Regions from separate parts of the Homo sapiens genome. Here all the other regions are linked to region 3. Evidence: promoter capture Hi-C in 16 types of primary human blood cells and fetal thymus (Javierre and others, 2016). All regions are on one chromosome and are shown on one strand. Each heading gives the region's core, a stretch centred on a gene start or on the middle of the fragment in contact. The rest is flanking DNA. Distances are from core to core; before and after follow the strand shown.

What was found. The method cuts DNA at HindIII sites, captures the fragments that hold promoters and counts their contacts. A CHiCAGO score of 5 or more calls a contact.
Region 1: a fragment that was not itself captured here is called in contact with the fragment with the promoter of NKX2-4 in region 3 in 1 of 17 cell types (activated CD4 T cells); the score reaches 5.4 in activated CD4 T cells.
Region 2: a fragment that was not itself captured here is called in contact with the fragment with the promoter of NKX2-4 in region 3 in 1 of 17 cell types (activated CD4 T cells); the score reaches 8.2 in activated CD4 T cells.

What each region holds. Positions count from the first base shown.
Region 1 is chr20:21,330,472-21,333,171 of GRCh38, reverse strand. XRN2 (5'-3' exoribonuclease 2) reads right to left here. Exons shown (of 30, transcript NM_012255.5): 5 at 2,633-2,691; 6 at 2,467-2,556; 7 at 1,539-1,611; 8 at 1,354-1,404; 9 at 732-889. Among named protein-coding and RNA genes, the nearest start is that of XRN2, 28 kb to the right of the region's middle. The HindIII fragment of the contact is 513 bases long and covers 1,022-1,534 here.
Region 2 is chr20:21,305,713-21,308,412 of GRCh38, reverse strand. All of the region lies in intron 1 of XRN2 (5'-3' exoribonuclease 2), which reads right to left. Among named protein-coding and RNA genes, the nearest start is that of XRN2, 3.7 kb to the right of the region's middle. The HindIII fragment of the contact is 4,700 bases long and covers 1-2,700 here.
Region 3 is chr20:21,396,202-21,398,901 of GRCh38, reverse strand. It overlaps NKX2-4 (NK2 homeobox 4), which reads left to right and starts at 1,376. Exons shown (of 2, transcript NM_033176.2): 1 at 1,376-1,944; 2 at 2,369-2,700. The coding sequence starts at 1,503. It overlaps LOC105372558 (a long non-coding RNA gene), which reads right to left and starts at 968. Exons shown (of 4, transcript XR_001754528.1): 1 at 326-968. The HindIII fragment of the contact is 6,496 bases long and covers 1-2,700 here.

The sequences.
Region 1 (2,700 bases), core at 29-2,528, 66 kb after region 3:
CCAACCAATGATTACCCCTTCCTTGTGAACAGATGTGCATAGATACATGTATACTGTCTTTATTGTATTACATATCTGAAATAATACACTATATTTATCTCTTTTTTCACTTAACGATGTCTTTGAAAGAGGCACCATATTCTTTTTCCCCCCTCAAAAAGCATATGACTCAAGAGGCACCATATTATTGAAACAGAAGCCCCTTTAAAGGGGACTGGACATAACCAAGTGAACCTAAAATACATAAAAAGTGGGAGTAACTTAAAAGTCTTAAGAAGTTGTAGTTCCTTTTAAGAAGAGTATTTCAAACAAATAACTTCCACAAACAAATTACAAGCTATGGGCATTATTATCTATGGGAACTAAGCCTCGTGTAGATATAGGCAATATCAGAAAAAGTGCTAAGTAGAAAGGATGAGTGTGTGCATGTTTTTGAATGCAGGTTTATTTTAAAGTACTTTAAAAGATTCGTCTCTGTCGAGACTGTCTCAAAAGAAAAAAAAAAGAAAAAAGATACATCTCTGTGAAGGGTAACGGTAACAGAACAAGCACATAAAGAACTAATCAACCACAATCTTCTCTTCATCCATTTTAAAAACAAGGTAACTCAAATATTTAATGCTATTTAATTGTATACTTTAAAATGGTTGAAATGATATTTTATGTCATATACATTTTACCACAATAGATTTTTTTTTTTAATGAGGCAACTACCATCTCAAAGTTCTTACCTTTCCCTTCTTTTCTCTTGGCAAACCTTCACAATCTTTGACCTCATGTCCAAACTGATTACAAAGACCACATGGTTTGGGCTTGTTTGGTTTGAATTCTTCTCTAATAATGGTAAAGTTCGGTTCATGTGTGGCAAGGCCAAGCATAATGAGATCAGCTATCAATCAACAATGAGAAAAACATCGAACAGTGAGTATTCTGAGAGAAGTCTTACCATAAACTACTATGAGATGCCAACACAAAGAAAAGCCCAAATGAGCACCCAAATGAGCAGCAAAGCCCCAAAGCTTGACACTTCCTGGCATTTCCCAGTTAACAGGAAGTCCTCTAGATACGTGGACCTACAACATAGACTGCCACTAAGGATTAAACACTTGGGAAATTCTCCATTTTAAAGGTATGGGGAGTTAAAAGGTTGAAAAATGTAAGAAAGAAGAAAAGAAATTAAAGATCATTGACCACAGATTAAACAGCAACTCAATACTAGTTCCCTGTCGAACATAAAATAACCAAGGCATTTTGGAACTTCCAGGTAACCATGAATAATCCATTACTGCACACCAACCCATCAACTTGCTATGGTTTAATCCAAAAGAAGCAAATCCCAAAGAAGAAACTTACCATCTGCTCCACATAAACAATGATGAGTATTTGGGTCATGGTTAGGCTGGGCTAAACAAGAGAGAAACATGTATTTATATTAATATATTATATACCACAAGAATATCACTTCATACCAAGTATTTTCTATGCAATGGCTTTTTAAAAATAGAACATATAATCAAATATTGGTAAGTAAGCTTTACCTCTTTGCCTTCTAATGTAATCCATGATTTTATGTTCTCCTTCACCAGGAGCACTAGCATCAGATAAAATAACCTATAAAAAAATTGTTAACACTTTCAGATTATCCCCAATTTTCTATAGGCACAAAAATCAAAAGAATTATATGTCTCAAGAAAAACTGAGATAAGTGTTACGGGAAAATTTTCTGAATAAGGGTGTGTGTGTGTGTGTGTGTGTGTGTGTGTGTGTGTGTGAAAAACACCAAAACTACTTCACTGAAAATTTTCTGAATAAAGAAGGGGTGTGTGTGTGTGAGAGACACCAAAACCACTTCATTGATTGACTTACTACATGTAATGGAAAGGAATGAAATGTCTGGGTCAGACCTAGCCATCAGAAAAACTGATCATTCACAAGCTCCTATTTTCACTACTATGCAAGGATATAGTGCTGAACCATATATGCCCCAAGAATAATCAATAACACATATCTATAAAATATAATTTACCATTTCTCATTAATAGGGAAGCCAGCTTATGAACCTAAAATTACAAACAAGTTCATTTACATATTATTTAAATATTTGGGAACACAGCCATTTAAGACAGCCCCACAACTTACTAATTTTGCTGTATATTGATATGTAATAATGGAAATTTCCATTTAAAAATTACTTTCCTATATATATTTTTTAAATTATGAATCCCATTTTATAGCTTCATAGTGATGGTAAGAGGACAAAATTGGCTTTAAGAGAAAATTCAGCTATCTAAAACCTAACCATGCAAGGATACCCCATCTCCAAAAACCCTGGAAGCTTTTCTTTCTTCCAACAGTCAACTAGCATTTTATGGGGCAGGGCAGAAGGATAAATAATGTCAGTCATATCAAAGTACAGCCTCGAATGATCACCCTAATCTTTCTGAAGTATCAAAATGTGAAACTTACTGTCAAATTTTTCCACCCAGGGTCATTATTTAAACGATCAGCTATGTAATAGCGAAGGCATTTAGCAAGATTGTCCATGAATTCAGTTCCCTAAAATGATAGAAAGAAATAAATTAACCTATCATTTAAGAGTTAGCAATAGCTAGCAAAGTATGAGACTACTTACTGGTGTAATACAGTTGCTGTCAAATCTTTCTTTTATTTCTTCTGGAGGAAGAAAGCCACCTAGAGAAA
Region 2 (2,700 bases), core at 80-2,579, 90 kb after region 3:
AAGTAATCACACACCTAATATACAATCCAACCATTTCACTCCTAATGTTTTTCCCCCAAACAAATGCAAGCATACGTCCCTACAATGACTTGTACAGAGATGTTCATAGGTTTCTTTTTCAGAAAGCCAAAAACTGGAAACAATCCCAATGTTCATCAATCATCTGAATAAATAAATAAAATGTGGTGTATCTACACACAGAATACTATCCAAAAATTAAAAGACGAGGCAGGCAGATACTTGAGGTCAGGAGTTCAAGACCAGCCTGGCCAACATGGTGAAACTCCATCTCTACTAAAAATACAAAAATTAGCCGGGTGTGGTGGCATGTGCCTGTAATCCCAGCTGCTTGGGAGGCTGAGGCAGGAGAATTGCTTGAACCCAGAAGGTGGAGGTTGCAGTGAGCCGAGATCGCACCACTGCACTCCAGCCTGGGCGACAGAGCGAGACTCCATCTCAAAAAAAAATAAAAACAAAAAAGAAATAAACTACTGACACATACAACAACGGAAGAATTTCAAAATAAGTATACTGAATGAAAGTAACTGAGGCAAAAAATGAGTATATACTATATAATCTCATTTATAAAAAATTATAGAAAATGAAAACTTATCATACGGTCAGAAAGCAAACCAGTCAGTGGTTGGCAAAAGACAGGTGGCAGGGAGGGATAGTAGAAAGGAACTACAAAAGGGCAGAAGGAATGTTTTAGAGGTCACGTTCACTGTCTTGGTTGTGCTGGTTTCACAGATGTATGCACTGTATTAAATTATATACTTTAAGCCCAGGACTTTGAGGCTGCAGTGAGCCATGATTGCACACTACATTCCAGCCTGGTGACAGAGCAAGACCTCAACTCGAAAAAAGTTAAAAGAAAATTGTACACTTTAATTACCTGCAGTTTATTCTATGTCAAGTATACCTCAACAAAGCTGCAAAAACACCAAAGGTTGGGGGAGGTTTCAAGGAAAGCCAGAGAATGAGAGAGAAAATAAAAATAAAAATACATGAGTCTAAGAGGACCAGTATCCTGAGTCTGGAAAGGGAAGAAAAAAAGGTCAAGAAATCATCAAACAGCATTCCCTAAAACCGAAGAACGTAAGACTCCAGACTCAAAGAGTGAGCCACGTACTGATCAAAATGAATCTGAATTTAAAATAACATCTATACCTGGGTACCTAATAATGAAAGTTTACACTATCAAGAAAAAGATCTTTTTAAAATCTAGGAAGGAAAACTGATCACAAAAGAATGAAAGCATATGAGCATAAAAATTAAGTCCTTCTGGTTTCCACACTAGCTCTGACATTTATCAGCTGAGTGACCTTGGGTATGATACGCGACCCTGCTGTGTTTCCATTTTCTCATCTGAAATAATAATAAACATAACAATAATCATTATTTTTCTGAGATGGAGTCTCGCTCTGTCACCAGGCTGGAGTGCAGTGGCGGGATCTCGGCTCACTGCAATGTCTGTCTCCCGGGTGCAAGTGATTCTCCTGCCTCAGCCTCCCAAGTAGCTGGGACTACAGGCGCGCCACCATGCGCAGCTAATTTTTGTATTTTTAGTAGAGATGGGGTTTCACCATGTTAGCCAGGATGGTCTGGATCTCTTGACCTCGTGATCCACCCACCTCAGCCTCCCAAAGTGCTGGGATTACAGTCGTGAGCCACCGCACCCGGCCAATAAACATAGTAATTATTATAACATAATAACAATATTGGTTGTCTCCAAATAACGTGCTTCTATTATTTGTATGTAATAAAAATAATTACAACAGTAGAAGTCATGTGGTTGTGAGGATCAAACAAGTTATAATAAAGTTCTTAAAACAATGGTAAATGCTATATAACTGCTGGTTAAATAAATACATCACATTAACACCGAACTTGTCATCAACACTACTAGATGAGAGAGTACAAAAGAACAATTTCTTTCAAAGTTCTGAGGGAACCTAATATTAAAACTGGAATTCCTGGCCAGGTGCGGTGGCTCATGCCTGTAATCCCAGCACTTTGGGAGGCAGGGGCTGGTGGATCACCTGAGGTCAGGAGTTCAAGATCAGCTTGGCCAACATGGTGAAACTCCGTCTCTACTAAAACTACAAAAATTAGCCGGGCGTGGTGGCGCGCCTGTAGTCCCAGCTACTCGGGAGGCTGAGGCAGGAGAACGGCTTGAACCCGGGAAGTGGAGGCTGCAGTGAGCCGATATCACACCACTGCACTCCTGCCTGGGTGACAGAGCTAGACTCCGTCTCAAAGAAGAAGAAAAAAAAAACACCTCGAATTCCATGCCTAGCTAATGATCATTCACGTGTATAAGGGTAGAATGGAGCTATTTTGGGTCCTACAATGACTCGGAAATCTCACATCCCACACAGCATTTCTTAAGAATTAAGAATAAGGAGGCCAAGGCAGGCGGATCAGAAGGTCAGGAGATCGAGACCATCCTGGCTAACACGGTGAAACCCCGTCTCTACTAAAAGTACAAAAAAATTAGCCAGGCGTGGTGGCGGGCGCCTGTAGTCCCAGCTACTTAGGAGGCTGAGGCAGGAGAATGGCGTGAACCCCGAAGGCGGAGCTTGCAGTGAGCCGAGATTGATTGAGCCACTGCACTCCAGCCTGGGAGACAGAGCGAGGCTCCGTCTCAAAAAAAAAAAAAAAAGAATTAAGAATAAAAACTAAGAAAACGATTTAAAG
Region 3 (2,700 bases), core at 127-2,626:
CCTTTTCTGGAAAAAAAATAAAACAAAATATTGCTTAAGAAAGCACTCTCCTTGTTTTTCTTTCTCCTGCTCCAGTTTCCAGGAAAACTTAAAAGTGTTATCTTTGTTTTCTCGTTATCATTATTATTGCTGCAAGATTGTTTTCAAAATTTAATCAATATGCTTTGCACACTGCTTTTGTCTTATGCTTTGTCTTGTTCAGTATTTAGTAGAGAGTTCATAATGTCTAAGTATTCGGGTAAAACTGCAAGTCAAAGGATGACAAAGTTTTAAAAATCTGTTTATCTATGGTTTTGTATTTTTCCAAAGAAACTACAATTTTCACCTGATTTCTGCATCCATTTTCATATCGCTTGAACAGGTTATATTTTTCCAACAACAACAAAAAGACCCGTTGCGAACAACTAGAAATATTTGGAAGTTTTGATATTTTGTCTTTCTCTTCTTTTTGATCACGGTAGTGATGGGAGAATAAACTTAAGTCAGAGATATTTACTGAGAGAAAGAGAGTAAGAACACACACAAAGGGAAAGAAAGCAGAAAAAACTTTACAAGTGCAAACTCAGTAGGAAACATTTTAGGAAATAAAAATGTTCCCCCTCTTTCCCTTGTTCAATTTCCATCCCCACAGAGGAAAAACAGAATACTTACAAGTTAGCATCTGCGTATTTATCAGTGTATGTGTGTTTTCTCTCTTCTCTGGGCTTGGATACTTTGAGCTAATTTGGAAGTGCCCGTTTGGTTGCCCACAAAATGATGCTTAAGGGTCTAAAAACGCATAAATTAGGGAGCCCTACAATGGCAAAGGACGGTCATTGTACCTCCTCTCTTTATGCGCTCTTACGGTGGGACCCAAGAGCCTTTTTTTTTTTTTTTAACACTTTAGGTGATGGAGCGAATGAGGGGCTGATAACTGGAGAGGACGAAGCAAGCCCCCGCAACACCCTCCCCCCAAACTTAGCAGCACGTTCCCCATTCCGCAATTATACCGGACTTTGGTGCGAAGTCACTTTAGAAAACTGGGATCTGGAAGGGGCCAGGCGCGGAGTCCATGTCTAGCCTCGACGCCAGCCTCCGAGTTTCTATTTCTGGTGCTCGAGGGCTGGGGTAACGGCCGCGGATGGAGGAGCGAAGGATGGGAAAAGCAAAGGATGGGAAAAGCAAAGATGGGAAAAGCAACGGGGAGTGATCTTTCCAAGAAACACCCAACTGCCCCTTTTACCTTTTTTTGCCTCCATTATGGGGCGGGGGTTGGGGGGGCGAGAGAAAAAGATGTCAATGACCATTGTTTGCTCGTTTGGGATGTTGCTCCGCCCCCCGAGTCTGTCGTAAACCTGGCGCCGGACTAAAATAAACCCCAGATCCCGCAGCCCGGGGGGCTCGCCGAGCCGCCGACTCCTCGTCACAGGCTCAGCTGCCGCGGCCGAGGTGGCGGCGACGAGCGGCCGCCGCGTCCTGCCGGCGCGCGCCCCAGGCCCCCCTACCTGGCTGCCCGCCGAGCCATGTCGTTGAGCCCAAAGCACACGACGCCCTTCTCCGTGTCCGACATCCTGAGCCCCATCGAGGAGACCTACAAGAAGTTCAGCGGCGCCATGGACGGCGCGCCACCCGGCCTGGGGGCGCCCCTGGGGGCCGCGGCCGCCTACCGCGCGCCGCCACCTGGGCCCTCCTCGCAGGCGGCGACCGTGGCGGGCATGCAGCCTTCTCACGCCATGGCGGGTCACAACGCGGCGGCCGCGGCGGCGGCGGCAGCAGCTGCGGCGGCGGCGGCCGCCACCTACCACATGCCGCCCGGCGTCTCGCAGTTCCCGCACGGCGCCATGGGCAGCTACTGCAACGGCGGCCTGGGCAACATGGGCGAGCTGCCCGCCTACACGGACGGCATGCGGGGCGGCGCGGCCACCGGCTGGTACGGCGCCAACCCGGACCCACGCTACTCGTCAAGTGAGAGGGGCCAGGAGCGCGGGGCTGCGGGCGGCTCAGGCGTTTCCCGCCACAGCCGAGGGGCGCGGGGGCGCGGGACGGGGTGCGCGCGGCTTAGGAGGTCCTGGGGCCGAGCGGGCGCGCGGGGCGTCCTGGGACGCGGCCCGGGACGCGCGGGGTTTCTGGGGACCCTGGGCGCGCGGGGGGTCCTGGGACCTGACCGGGAACGCGCGCGGCGTCCTGGGACCCGTTGAGGGCGTGGTGCTCTGGGACCCGCCGAGGGCGCGCGGGGCGTGCTGGGGCCGGAGGCCGCGGCGGTCAGGGGGTCTTGGGATTCAGCGAGGGCCCGGCGGCGTCGCGGCCGCGGCGTGAAGAGAGCGGCGGCTGGACCGGCTCCCGGCGGGCCTGGAGCTCACTCGCCTTCCCCCTTGGGACTCTTCCCCAGTCTCCAGGTTCATGGGGCCGTCGGCGGGCGTGAATGTGGCCGGCATGGGGTCGCTGACCGGCATCGCGGACGCCGCCAAGTCGCTGGGCCCGCTGCACGCGGCGGCGGCGGCAGCCGCTCCGCGAAGGAAGCGCCGCGTGCTCTTCTCGCAGGCGCAGGTCTACGAGCTGGAGCGGCGCTTCAAGCAGCAGAAGTACCTGTCGGCGCCCGAGCGCGAGCACCTGGCCAGCATGATCCACCTGACGCCCACGCAGGTCAAGATCTGGTTCCAGAACCACCGGTACAAGATGAAACGGCAGGCCAAGGACAAGGCGGCGCAGCAGCTGCAGCAG